5 separate regions of the Homo sapiens genome follow, and regions 1, 2, 4 and 5 are each linked to region 3. The links are contacts of gene promoters, found by promoter capture Hi-C in blood cells and fetal thymus (Javierre and others, 2016). All regions are on one chromosome and are shown on one strand. The core of a region is centred on a gene start or on the middle of the fragment in contact, and the rest is flanking DNA. Distances in the headings are between cores, read along the strand shown. Region 1 has its middle 4.9 kb from the start of KRT85. Region 2 has its middle 8.5 kb from the start of KRT76. Region 3 holds the start of KRT72 (keratin 72). Region 4 overlaps KRT79 (keratin 79). Region 5 has its middle 8.6 kb from the start of KRT3.

What was found. The method cuts DNA at HindIII sites, captures the fragments that hold promoters and counts their contacts. A CHiCAGO score of 5 or more calls a contact.
Region 1: a fragment that was not itself captured here is called in contact with the fragment with the promoter of KRT72 in region 3 in 2 of 17 cell types (M0 macrophages and M2 macrophages); the score reaches 5.6 in M0 macrophages.
Region 2: a contact is called between a fragment that was not itself captured here and the fragment with the promoter of KRT72 in region 3, in 3 of 17 cell types (total CD4 T cells, M2 macrophages and total CD8 T cells). The highest score is 5.6, in total CD4 T cells.
Region 4: a contact is called between a fragment that was not itself captured here and the fragment with the promoter of KRT72 in region 3, in 1 of 17 cell types (total CD8 T cells). The highest score is 6.6, in total CD8 T cells.
Region 5: a fragment that was not itself captured here is called in contact with the fragment with the promoter of KRT72 in region 3 in 9 of 17 cell types (total CD8 T cells, M2 macrophages, naive CD8 T cells and 6 more); the score reaches 7.6 in total CD8 T cells.

What each region holds. Positions count from the first base shown.
Region 1 is chr12:52,370,983-52,373,682 of GRCh38, forward strand. No RefSeq gene overlaps it. Among named protein-coding and RNA genes, the nearest start is that of KRT85, 4.9 kb to the left of the region's middle. RefSeq lists an enhancer at 1,712-1,881 and a cis regulatory region at 1,797. The HindIII fragment of the contact is 4,826 bases long and covers 1-2,700 here.
Region 2 is chr12:52,784,537-52,787,236 of GRCh38, forward strand. No RefSeq gene overlaps it. Among named protein-coding and RNA genes, the nearest start is that of KRT76, 8.5 kb to the left of the region's middle. The HindIII fragment of the contact is 6,807 bases long and covers 1-2,700 here.
Region 3 is chr12:52,600,152-52,602,851 of GRCh38, forward strand. KRT72 (keratin 72) reads right to left here and starts at 1,312. Exons shown (of 9, transcript NM_080747.3): 1 at 876-1,312. The coding sequence starts at 1,301. The HindIII fragment of the contact is 8,078 bases long and covers 1-2,700 here.
Region 4 is chr12:52,821,452-52,824,151 of GRCh38, forward strand. KRT79 (keratin 79) reads right to left here. Exons shown (of 9, transcript NM_175834.3): 6 at 2,436-2,561; 7 at 1,565-1,785; 8 at 894-928; 9 at 1-626. The coding sequence ends at 421. Among named protein-coding and RNA genes, the nearest start is that of KRT4, 8.7 kb to the left of the region's middle. The HindIII fragment of the contact is 288 bases long and covers 1,298-1,585 here.
Region 5 is chr12:52,803,322-52,806,021 of GRCh38, forward strand. No RefSeq gene overlaps it. Among named protein-coding and RNA genes, the nearest start is that of KRT3, 8.6 kb to the left of the region's middle. The HindIII fragment of the contact is 4,113 bases long and covers 1-2,700 here.

The sequences.
Region 1 (2,700 bases), core at 111-2,610, 230 kb before region 3:
CAGGAGGGTGCTGACACCTTCCCCATCCTGCACTGTCTGTCCTCCCAGTTTTGTGTTTGTGCCTGCCTGGGCTCTTGTGGGTTGTCTTCCCATCCCTCCTAGTGGGCTGGTCCCCCTCAGTCAGTCCTGATGGGCTCCCCATGGACAAGGCCTGCACAGCTGATTCAAACTGGGTACCGCCCTTTGCCTCTGCTGGCCACACTTTTATTATGCATCTAAGGCTACGCCACTGCCGCTGCTGAGACGCAGCTCTTGGAGGCTCTTCTTAGCCCTCTTTCCCTCTCTTTGACTTTCACAAGACTTGGGCATGATTCAGGGACCCTAAGTGAGAGAAAGGAGGGTCAGAGCAACTCTACGTTCTCCAGTGTGTCATGGCGGGGTTCCGTGCCCAGCTGACACAGCTGCTCCCTGGCCTGCTCCACGGCAACTCCAAGAAACTCCATTCTCCTCCCGAACTCTGTCCACGTGCCTTCCTATTGGCAGCATTCCCTGGTGCTTTGCTGTTTTCCATGGTTACTCGGGATCAGAGCAGTGGCTCAGTCGTTACAGAGCCTCTGATTTCAGGAATGTACTGCATGAATGGTTTTGAAATGTTTTCTTTCTTTTCTTTTTGGCAGTTGAGCCATCTCCCCAAATCCTAGGAGGAAAACAGCTATATAAAGCCATGTATTTACTTATGTAGTTATAGAATAGATAAGATTGACATGCTGGTCTCCCTGTTTGCCCCTGGCCCTCCAACTCCATTCTCAGCCGAGGAGAGTAAGCCCCGTAAAACATAAGTTGGATCATGTCTCTACCCTGCTCAAACACCCAATTCCCCATTTTGCTTGGAGTCCTAACAATGGCCAACAAGGCCCTGCACTGCCTGTCTGTGTTGTGGCCTTTGTCACCGGTCTCCCTGTGTTCAGCAACCACAGTGACCTCCCACTGGAGCACCAGGACAGGGTGCACTCCTGACTCAGGGCCTGTGCCCTGCTGTCTCTTCCACCCAAATGCTCCCCTGTCATCCAAGTGGCTTGCCCATTGCCTCCTGCAGGGCTTTGCCCCTATACCATCTCTCTGACCCTTTAAAAAAATGGCAACCTGCCCTCCACCCCAGGGCACTCTCCATCCAGCTTATCTTGCTCTTATTTATTTATTTTTCCATCACACTTAACACAGTCCAGAATTTACTTATTTATTCTATTTGTGGATTATTGTCTGTTTTTCCCATCACCCCAAAGTAAACTCCATGGAAGCAGAGATTTTGTCTGTTTTGTTCATTTTGTTCACCTAGAAAAGTGCTGGGAATATAGTAAGTGCTCAGTAAATATTGTTGACTGATGAATGTATAAATGAATGGCTATCTTGGATACTTTAGATATTTGAGGTTTGGCAGAAAATGACAGCTTGTGGGAAGCCTTGGCCCTTGAGCCCCGAGGAACACATGCAGTTTGAAAGCCATGGGACTAAGACCCCTCCCTGGCTCTTTCCTGCTTCAAGGCTGTGGTTTTCTGAATACCCATGGAGACAAAGAACACAGAACGGTGAAAACGGCTGGGTTGGGCTGGTGAGAAAGGAGATAGATTTATTTTTAAAAGCTGTTACTTATTGTTTTTATGTTTGTGTCCTAATTACAAATCTGGAGAAAAACAAAATGGTTTTACAAGACTCTAAGCTCCCTCCTCTCCTTGCTATATTGCACAAGCCAATCCTGCTGGTAGCCTGCTTTGAAAATCTCCTACGCCTTCTTGTCCGAAGTTGGTGGCCAGAAGAGGGCAGCAAATTCCCACAGCTGGCCTGGCAGCAGTTCAGTCGTGGCAGAAGCAGAGAAGGCCAGGGATCTGCCTGCAGCTGGCTCTGGTTTCCAGATCTTTGGAAGCTGGAGACAGTCCCTGACGCTTCTGCATCCACCTGTGGTTGGTACTGGAGTGGCTGAGCTGCTGACAAAGCTATTGTTCATTGACAAAAGAGAAACACCACCACCACCACCACTACTGAAGCAATTGTGTACCCACTGTGGGCCAGGTTGAGTGCCAAGCACCTTGGATTACCATTGCATGTCATCCCCACATCTCTTTGAGGTACGACATATTTTTCCATTTTACAAATGAGGCAAGAGGCGTATTGAGATTACGTGACAGGCAGAACAGCACAGTGGTGGTGAGCATGGGCTCAGGAGTCAGAGCTCCTGTGCCTCACCACTTATTTAACCTCTCTGGGCCTCAGTTTTGTCATCTGTCAAATGGGAAATAATAAAAGCACCTACCACCTAAGGATATTGAAAGAATAAAATGAGTTAACCTGTGAGAATTATTTGGAACACTACTCAGTTCAACATATGTTAGGTATTATTGTTACCTCTCATTACCTTTGGTCACGCAGCCAGTAAGTGGAAGACCTGGGATTGAACTCAGGTCTGCCTGTGCCCTTGTCCATGGGTTTGACCCCTATGTCATCTCTGGGAGATAACTGACATATTAATAATATTGAGTCTTCCAGCTCATTAACACAGTATATCTTTCTATTTATTTAAGTTTTCTTTGATTTCTTTCATTAATGTTTTGTAGTTTTCAGCATACAGATCCTCATATACTTTTTAAAGGTTTATGCCTAAGTATTTATCCTTTGGAATTAAATGGTACTATTGGAAATGATATTTCAACAATTTTTTAATTTCCATTGCTGGTGTATAGAAATACAATTGATTTCTGTATATTG
Region 2 (2,700 bases), core at 95-2,594, 180 kb after region 3:
GCCTGGGCAACATGGTGAAAGCCGGTCTCTACTAAAATACAAAAAAAAAAAAAATTAGCCAGGCATGGTGGCATGCACCTGTAGTCCCAGCTACTCGGGAGGCTGAGGCAGGAGAATCACTTAAACCCATGAGGTGGAGGTTGCAGTGAGCTGAGATCATGCCACTGCACTCCAGCCTGGTGGCAGAGCGAGACTCCATCTCATAAAAAAAAAAAAAAAAAACTTCTACAAATACATACTTCCCTCAAATCCACAAGGATCTCTATCCAGTTCAACTATAACCCATATCACTGTAACTAAAGATCTTCTCCCAAGGAGAGAAATGAATGAGACGACCTCTTGTTTGGCACAGCTTTCTCTGCAGTGGCACTGTGGACATTTGAGGCTGGCTGTTTATATGTTGAAGGGGGCTGGCTTGTGTGATGTGGGATGTTTAGTAGCAACCTGGCTTCTACTCTCTAGATGCCAGTAGCACTCCCCGACTTGTGACAACCAAAAATGTCACTAGACATTGCTATATGTTCCCTGGGGAGCAAAATTGCCCCCACTGAGAGTCACAGCATTAGTTCCACCTAGAGTCACCTTCTCCTGCCACCGTCTTCTCCAGTGGTTGACGGAGCTGTCACCATTCAGTCTCATCACCACAGATTCCAAAAGTATCAGATTCTCCCAGCACACCTCCATCAATGGTTCCCTAGGAGAGCCAAGTCACCTTCAGCCTTCAGCCTGGACTGGAAGTGTTGATGGGGATTAGCTCTATCTTAGGCACAACAGAGATGTGTGTTAGACAATGTGTATGCCAGAAGGGCTTGTGAAGGATGTAGTGAAGATTCAGATAAAATGTGTGAAGAAGCATTTTCAGAACTTAAGTGAGTTTTTCTCGGTCATCCCAAGATTATCTCAAGGTTCCCACACTTTTTGTCTTTGTCTTTGTCTTTGCATAGAGGGAGAATACACATGGGCTGAAGTGCTGAGAAGGCAGAGAGAAGAGGCAGTCCAAATCCCAGAAAGTGAGATCTCTGATGCTTGGCTAACAAACACTCCACCCAGTTCTAGGCAAAACAGAGAAGAGTCATGTAGAGATTTACCTGCAAATTACACAAAACGTTACATGCAAAACTTGATCATCAGCAGTCAAGTCTAGATTATCCATAGGCAAGCGCTGAACTACTTTCAAATTCTTGTGGAAAACAACCCTCTGATTTCCTTAACTGAGCCTTTCATAGGTGTGACACTGTTACCACTGATACTTGCTCTGACATGTAGCCTGTATTCTCACAAAGATATAGAAGGAAAACCTGAAATCTAAAAACACAACTTGGTCTTCCTAATGGGAAGTGAACCAGTGAGTCCGCAAGCTCTTAGAACAGGAAAACACTCTTTTGAGCATTTCTTCTGGGGAAGACAGTGTGGGGGTGGTTGGAGGGGATAGATGATGATAGATAGATAGATAGATAGATAGATAGATAGATAGATAGATAGATAGAGGCGTAGGGTAGAAGTTGGTTCCTCTATGTCCAACAATGATAGACTGGATTAAGAAAATGTGGCACATATACACCATGGAATACTATGCAGCCATAAAAAATGATGAGTTCATGTCCTTTGTAGGGACATGGATGAAATTGGAAATCATCATTCTCAGTAAACTATAGCAAGAACAAAAAACCAAACACCGCATATTCTCACTCATAGGTGGGAATTGAACAATGAGAACACATGGACACAGGAAGGGGAACATCACACTCTGGGGACTGTTGTGGGGTAGGGGAAGGAGGGAGGGATAGCATTAGGAGATATACCTAATGCCAGATGACGTGTTAGTGGGTGCAGCGCACCAGCATGGCACATGTATACATATGTAACTAACCTGCACATTGTGCACATGTACCCTAAAACTTAAAGTATAATAATAATAAAGAAAGAAAGAAAAAAAAAGAAGTTGATTCCTCTTTTTCATTGCAAGTGGATATACCTCTCCACACCCAGGAAAGAGAGATGTGGAAGAGAGAGCAAAGAAATTCTTGACCATTGGCCAAAGACCCCAAATCCCAGTTTAGGATCCAGGCTCACAAGTAGGCATTATTCAACAATCACTGTGAGCTCTTTGTGGGCAAAAGTATGCCTTAGAGGACAGGAAAAGCATGGACAACACAGGACTCACTATGTACTAGAAGAATGAAAAGTCTAGTCAAGTACAAGAAAGCAAACTCAAGCCCAGTGACTTAAGAGCTCTTGAAAAGTCAACATAGAATTGTGCAAAAAAACTATGCAAATGCTAAGGCAAAGGAAAAGAAGGAGCACTGAGAAGCAGGTGAAGTTCCCTGCAAGGGGTTTTCAGCCTGGATTAGAAACAGTCAGGGCCTGGCAGGGCGCGGTGGCTCATGCCTGTAATCCCAGCACTTTGCGAGGCAGAGGCGGGCGGATCACCTGAGGTCAGGAGTTAGAAACCACCCTGGCCAGCATGGCAATCTCTACTAAAAATGCAAAAATTAGCTGGGCTTGGTGGCTTGCACCTATAATCTCAGCTACTCAGGAGGTTGAGGCACAAGAATCACTTGAGCCCAGGAGGGAGAAGTTGCAGTGAGCCAAGATAGTGCCACTGCACTACAGCCTGAGTGACATAGGGAGACTCCATCTCAAAAAATAAAGAAAGAAAGAAACAGTCAGTGCTGGGCTGAGAATATCCAGCCAAGCATG
Region 3 (2,700 bases), core at 62-2,561:
CACTCTTTCCAAGTGCCTCCTCAGCCTCACCCTTCAGTTTTCTGGCCCTTTTCTCTCACCTCCTCTATCATCTTCCTGGCTACACACTTACCCCACTCCTCAAGCACCAAGCACCATGTCCTGCAACGTCTCTTGGCCTCTGTTCCTAATGCCCTGCCCTGAATGTGGGTCCCATCTCCTCTTCTGATATTGGGAGCTCTCAAAGTGCCCATTCCTTGGACATCCTGACCCCTCCCTTCTCACAGTCTTGTCTCATGCAAGAAAGAAATGAAGGTCCTTGATACGTTTTGGCTGTGTCCCCACCCAAATCTCAACTTGAATTAAGTCTCCCAGAATTCCCACGTGTTGTGGGAGGGACCCAGGGGGGAGGTAAATGAATCATAGGGGCCGGTCTTTCTCCTGCTATTCTCCTAATAGTGAATAAGTATCACGAGATCTGATGCGTTTATCAGGGGTTTCCGTTTTTGCTTCTGCCTCATTTTTCTCTGGCCGCCGCCATATAAGACGTGACTTTGGCCTCCCGTTATGATTCTGAGACCTCCCCAGCCATGGAGAACTGTAAGTCCAATGAAACCTCTTTTTTTTTTTCCCAGTCTCGGGTATGTCTTTATCAGCAGCATGAAAATGGGCTAATACATCCTGTTTATTGGAAGTATGTGCCAGGCACTGTTCTGAGCACTTCGTAAACATCCCAATTAAGCCTCATCGCAACCCACTGGAGTAAGACCCATTATTGTGCCCATTTTACAAATGGAAAAGGGAGGCTCGGAGAGGTTATGACCCGCCCACGCTCCCACACAGCTCGCCAGTGGCAGAGCCAGCACCACTGTGCACATGCGCCCAACGCAGGGACAGGCCAATGCCCGAGGACTCACCTTGTCGATGAAGGAGGCGAACTTGTTGTTTAGCGCCTTGATCTGCTCCCGCTCCTGGGCGCGCACCCTCTGGATCTCGGGGTCCATCTCCACGTTGAGCGGGGCCAGGAGGCTCTTGTTGACGGTGACCTGAGGGATGCCCCCGGGTGGGCACACGGAGGGACACTTGGGCCCCAGCCCGGCGCTGCCGAAGGCGGTGCCCACGAAGCCGCCCAGGCGGCCGCCGCCCCGCCGTGCAGCAGCGCTGAGCGCCAGGCTTCGGCTGCCCCCAAGGCAGGAGAGGCTCTTGCTGCCAAAGGAGGCCGAGCCCTTGACCCGGGCCCGGAATGAGGCGGAGCTGCTGCCGATCCCGCCAGAGAGGACCGCGGAGCAACCGCTGAAGCCCAGGCGCTCCCCGCGGGGGAAATGGGTCAGTTGGCGGCTCATGGCTCGCAAGTACCGGTGCTGGCCGCGCGGGAGGCAGAAGGGGCGCAAACAGCCGCTGCGTTCTCGGCCCAGCTCGCCCCTTAAATAGCCTGGCTGGCTGGAGTCAGCCTAATTTGTATGTCGACAACACCTTTTAGATCCCTTGAGGCCTCTTGGGTTCTTCATGTAGGAAATTACCATGCACTCACCGAGATTTTTGTCTGTTCCACCGTGAACTCCCCATGAATCCCTGTAAAGTGACCCAGAACCCAGCATTTACTTGGCTCACCTCCTGCATTATCATGGCTTAGCGACCTTATCTCCACCTGCTGGCCTCCAATTACTGGGGTTATCACTCCCAAGATCACCCCTGGAAACTTCCAGTGGGGCTGACCCTCTGGGTGTGTGTCTGGGGAGACGGAGGTGTGTGAAGCAGAAGTCCAGGCTGCTTCTGCTTCAGAAGGCCATGAATAGAGTCAAGACTATCGCAGAAAATCATCCTTAGCCTGTCCTCCTCCTGCCTCCCAGGCTTCTGGATGAGGACAGCTCTGTCCCTTGTGCAAGAAGGAAGTTCAGAAGGAGGAGATTTTGGCCCCGTCTGCAGAGACCTCTCAGTCTGTTGGAGAAGGCAGGACACAGAGACCTCTGGTCACAAGTGTTGAGGGTTGACTTTGGACCAGAGCGAAAAGATTTCTCCACTAAGCATTTCTGGACTAAGAATGGGGACCATGCTATCTGGGAGGGAGGGAAGAAGGCCTGGGGAGGTGGTACAGGAAGACTCAGGCATGGTTTAGCAGATGGTGTTTCCTAAGGCTTTCGGTTGTTTTCATTTTTGTTTTCTTTTAATAGCAGAAGAGGCTTATTTATCCCATCCAGCAAACCTCTGCTCAGGTCATTTGCCACCCAGTCATTTCTGATTCAGCATCAAAATGTGATCAGTTATTAGGAAGAGGTCAAGACTCTTCAGATCTAAAACCAAGAACTAGATTCTAGAACTTCATTCCCTTTAAGCTACAGAGGCTCCTTCTTCCACCTAACCCGATTTCCTTTTCTCAAACTTAAGCTGCCTTCAAGTCTCCTCCTCTCTTAGCAACAGCTCTCCTGTTCCTCTGGCATGCAGGTGGGATTATTTCATTGCTCTTATTTCTTAAGCTGCCAGAGTCCTGGGTGTGTGTTCCATTTCCTCTATCAGATTGACAGGGCCCCCTGGATTCACCCTTCCCTCCTCTGCTCCCCCAGTGCTCAGCCCAGGCCTTGGCCAAAGGGACATTTAGGATGATTGTGAAACAGCAGAGTGCTTAGGGCAAGGCTTGTTACTGCACCTTCAGTGATACCCTGAAGGCTGGGTTCCCCTTGGGGACCTCATGGGTTGGTTAAATGGTACCTGGGGGTAATTGGCTGACATAGCCTCCACTGGGCC
Region 4 (2,700 bases), core at 192-2,691, 220 kb after region 3:
TTGCACCATTTATTGAGACACAGACAGGGAAGGGGGATGTGGGTAGATTCAGGGAGAGGGTGGGTCTGGTGGGGGACTGGGGAGGTTGAAGGGTCTTTGGGGACCACTCCCAATTTCTCTCTCTCCTAATGGCTTGAGAAATTCAGCCTCCTCTCGGTGGTCAAAAGGTCACCCCCAAGTCACCCAAGCACATCACTCAAGCTGGCAACTTTAACCTTCCCTCCCATCCTACTGCAGGACCAAGGAGAAAACCTGAGTAGATTTGAGCGCTTCCCAAGATGCAAATAGTCTGGTATGAAAATACCCTGGGTCTGAGGTCCCCTGGCTGTTCCTGCTCCTGAGAAGTGACTGGAAAGGACAGCAGAGGTGGGGTGAGGAGGGCAGGGACAGGATTGCAGGGGCCCTTGCAGGGCTCAGCAGCTAATACCTCTGGCTGGACGTCTTGACCGTAGTGGTCTTCCGCAGGATGGAGGTGCCCGCAGAGACTGGCCCTCCCTTGACGGTGCTATAGCCCACATTTGTGCTGAATCCACCCTTGGTGGCCCCCCCACTCCCACCCAGGGAGATGCCACCTCCAAAGCTGGCTGCGCCACCTCCGCACACAGTGGTGGAGTTGCCAGTCACAGCTGCAAAGCAAAGGGTCTGGATTAGTCAGGGCGGCCATGCCAGAGAGGGCTGGGGGAGACCCAGAAATCAGTGGGGAATCAGAACAAAATCAAGCAGCAGAGCTATGGGAAATGGATAGAGAAGCCCAGAACTAGGACCCTCTGAACCTGTCTCCAGGGGCTCGAATGGAGGAGAGCATGCTTTAGGACAGGTACAGGTTGCATAAACTGAGCAGAGTTCTGGGGCCTGGCCAGGGGTGGAGCAGGAAGTGGGGAGTAAATACTCACAAATGCTGACTGCACTGGGACATTCTCCAGACATCCTAGGGGACACAGAAAGGCCAGGAGAGCAGTCAGTTATCCCTGGTGCCCACATGAAAACCCTCTCCTTCCCTCTGCCTTTACATTGGATCCACTCAGTGAATCCTGATGACAAGACCAGGAAACATGAGAAGTATGTGTATAGGGCTGTGCCCAGGTCCAAAAGCCAGTGCTGCAGAAAGGGCAGAGCCACCAGTAGGCTGTGCCAACTCCCATCCTCCCCTTTTCTTTCCTCTCTGCCCATGTGGGCTACGGACAGCATCCCTGCCCCAATGGAAACAAGCCCACGACCAGACAGAGCTGCCTAGTTTCTGCCCACTTTCTATTTCATGCTTTTCCTAAGGACAGAGATGGTGGATTTTTTTTTCCAAAGCTTCCACTGCTGGTGAAATCTGCTGGTGGAAGAGGAAGTTCCATTCCTACCGGGCTGTCAGCCACAGTAAAGATTAACAAGAGTTGTGCCAACCAAGGAGAGGAGTGATGGAGGCAGTGGGCACAAGCAGATTTTCCCCCCGCGTGAGTCAGGATCTTGCTCCCTGGTTCCTCTCTCCCTCTCTTGACCCCGGAGCAGACTCCCTGGGCTCTCCCCCAGGGCAGGCCCGACCCAGCTTTCTGGGTCGGGCAGGAGGGGCCACCACCTGCTCTCCTCGCTCTCCAGAAGCTTGCGGTAGGTGGCAATCTCCACGTCCAGGGCCAGCTTGACATTCATCAGCTCCTGGTAGTCACGCAGCAGCCGTGTCAGGTCCTCCTTGGCCTGGTGCAGGGCCACATCCAGATCCCCAAGCTTCTTCTGAGCATCCTTGAGTGCCAGCTCCCCACGCTGCTCCGCTTCCGCAATGGCCGTCTGCAGCTGCTGACACTGCCCAGGGGAGAAAGGTGTTGGAAGCACCCTCCGGGGTCATCCCATTCATCTCTCTGCCCTCAAGCCATGGAGACATCATCATTCCCACATCCCTGCCCCCAACCAGCTGGGAAAGAGAGAAGAGAAATATTCATCTGAAGAGATGCTATTACACAAGCAGGATCAAGTAAGGCCACTGGGAAAGTCCTTACTGAAGTCTAACCTCAACCCCTCCTGCTGCAGATCAGCCCAATGCCTCAGAAGAGATGAAATAAATAACACAGCCTTATTAGTAACCAGGTGCTTCATTCTAATCTGTGAAAGAACCCACACTTTTTAGCCGTTCTAAAGGTGGAGTCGGCATCAGCATCTGTGACCTGGCCCCTTGAACCCTCTACCTCCTGTTCTGACTTCCTGGAGATGGGATGGATCAGTTTCCTTGGAGAAGGTTGTCCCACCTGCTCTACCACTCATATACCATGTGACGTTGGACAAGCTCCTTCCTGCTCTGTGCCTCAGTTTCCCCCCATGTAAAAGGAGCCTGTGATCAATGGCCTAGCATTCTATTGTGTCCGTCAGGAGAAGAGCAGGCCTAGCCCCTCGGGGTGACAATGAGAAGGCCCTGCCAACACCTAGGCCAGACCCCCAAGCCCCCAGTAGAGTCCCACCTGCTTCTTGGCTGCATCAGCCTCCCCCTGCAGCCTCTGGATAGTGCGGGTGAGCTCAGCAATCTCGTTCTTGGTGTCCCGCAGGTTGTCCCCATGCTTCCCAGCAGTCACCTGCAGCTCCTCATACTGGGGACCAAAGAAGTGGCAGTGCGCTTTCAAATGGCCCCAGCCCACCCTCACAGCTGGAGGCCCCATGCAAGTTGAGTATATCTGGCCCCCCGGACTCCAAGGGTCCCAGAGGCCCAAGCCTCTCACGATGGGAGAT
Region 5 (2,700 bases), core at 14-2,513, 200 kb after region 3:
AGATGGATGATGGATGGATCATAGATGGATGGATGGATGGATGGATGGATGGACGGATGGATGAGTAGATGGATGAATGGGTGGATGGCAAATGACAGTCCAAACACTTTCTCCAGAAAATGTCTTCCCAGCTTATCTAGCTTCTCACCCACTTTCTCGAATTTTTAAGGATCAAATCCACAACACTCAAAGTAAAAAAACTGCAGATGCAGAACAATCCTACCTTGACCCAAAGCCAAACCAGAAAACCATGGGCAGCAATGAGCCTGAGTCCTGGGGCTCCCACCACCAAGACCCTTCATGGCCACAACTCTACACTCCCAGCCCTCTTAGTGGAATAACGAGATGACTGTTCAGACCCTACCATCAACACGGGAAAAAAAATGGAACAGGTGCTAAAATGGCTTTTTTCCTTTCAGCCTGCTCCCTCCCTTTGTCCCTCGTTGGCCCACTGTTACCATGTCCTGAGGGCCCACAAAGGGGGCACAGCCCCCTCAACTATTTCCCCACGTAGCTGTCTCACTAAACCCTGAACATCCACCCAAGACATGGGAGCAGCCATGCCTTATTCTGAGGTCCTCTGGTCTTAGAACACAAAGCCTGGGCCCCGTCAGCAAGTTAAAACAAAACCCCACAGTGGGACATGAAATAAGCCCCTCTTTGCTATAACCTTCTGGGTTTACTAGCAACGAGGTAGGGAGACTTCAGAAGTATTGGTGAGAACTTTCTGGAACTGAGAGGGCTGAACCCAGAGCGGAGGGTCTTGGTGAGGTGGGAGGGATCTATGCAAACATAGCAGTTGTTCAGGAGTTGACAGGTGCCTGAGCCAAAGTGATGGTGGGGCTGCAGCCAGGGCTGGGAGCCAAGATCTTGGGGAATGGAGTCAGGGCAGATGAGCCAAATAAACCAAGTTAGAGATTTGCCAACCTGCAGTTGGGCTCTTCAGATGTGAAAAGTGATTTCCGTATACTTAGAGGTAAAGGATTTAAAAGAAAAGGGAGAGCATGGGGCCTCCAACGGGGTAAATAATGCAAGCCATGTCTCCCTGTTTCCTAAGCACTAGGAGCTGGCCAGAATCCAATTCGAAGGATCAGAGAGAAGGGTGGTGTCTATTATCTCAGCAGTATATTTACCCCAAATAATCCCCTCTGACTAGCCAGCCAGTTTCAAACATATGAATCAAGGCCAGGATCCACTCTCCTGGACTGTTCTAGAAACAGAGACCAACATGAGGGCTTTTCCTTTTTATGTAAAATAGAAGACTTTTTTTTGAGACAGAGTCTCACTCTGTCGCCAGGCTGGAGTGCAGTGGTGTGATCTCGGCTCACTGCAACCTCTGCTTCCTGGGTTCAAGGGATTCTCCTGCCTCAGCCTCCCGAGTAGCTGGGATTATAGGCGCCTGCCACCACACCAGGCTAATTTTTGTATTTTTAATAGAGACGAGATTTCACCATGTTGGCCAGGATGGTCTCGATCTGTTGACCTCATGATCCGCCCCCCTTGGCCTCCCAAAATGCTGGGATTACAGGTGTGAGCCACCGTGCCCGACCTAAGAGACTTTTTATATAAATAAGAAACGCTGACACACTCACATAGCCATGTGCCTATGAATACAAACACATTTATTCTAAGATGCACATACACGCGTATAATCTACGGCCTGACCTTGCAGTGTAAATCACTGAGTTCAACCAAAGAGATGCTGAGAGGCACGGAGGGCTGCTCAGGCTGGCTGCTCCCACACTCAGGGGGCATGAGAAATGCTTTAACCTGCCCCTTGCCTCTCTGTGAGGCCCAACACAACCTGCAGCCTCCTGGTGGGTGAACCTGAGAAGCTCCACCCCTAGTTCCAACCTTTAACTCCTCCTCACCACTCCCAGAAACTCAAAAAAAAAAAAAAAAAAGAGCCCATCTGCATTTTGCCAGGGGAGGAGTGCAGCCCTTGGAAGAAGCCAAAGCCACCAAATGCAGCTGCAGAGACTTCCTGTTCTGACACATGGGGCTCAATGAGCCCTAAGACAATGGGGATATTAGGGCCAGGCTGATGAAGGACAGAGCCCAGGTTGCTCCTGGCAAAGTCCCCTGCCCAGAGAGCACAAGCCCCTGAGATTAACCCTTTGCTACTCTGTCCCCGCTTTCCCAAAGGCAGAACAACCCTGAGCCTACCTTGGATCTGCACGAGACTCCCATGGGCAAGGACTGGTCTTGGGCAAACGACGTGCCTTTCTGCCTGCACACCATGAGGCCCCATGGACACAGGGCTGGAGGAACTGGAGTCTGAATGAACTCTGCGGCAGTCAAGGGTGGGAGGCACAGTAGGGTGGCCAAGGCAGAGAGTGCATTCTGCATCTGCAGCAAACTGATTCGAGTCAGACTGCAGAGCAGGAGCTGGGAAATCTTTGGAAGAGGGGAGACTGTGCTGCTCCAGGTACTTGGAATTGGTCCAATATAGAAAAAGGGTGTCCCCAAATCTACCCAGACCCCCACCTCTGACTGTCCTCTCCCCGCTTCTGTAATTAGACAGCTCCCTCCACTCCTGCTCCAGAAGACCTGCTCCACCTCCAACATTCTTCGCCACTCAGGGACAGCACCACAGACATAACCCCAGGCACCCCTGAGGAGCTGGGGAAGTGAGCAGCTCATGAAAACTCTAGGAGAATGACACACATGCACACCTCCCTCCAACAACCGTGACCTTGT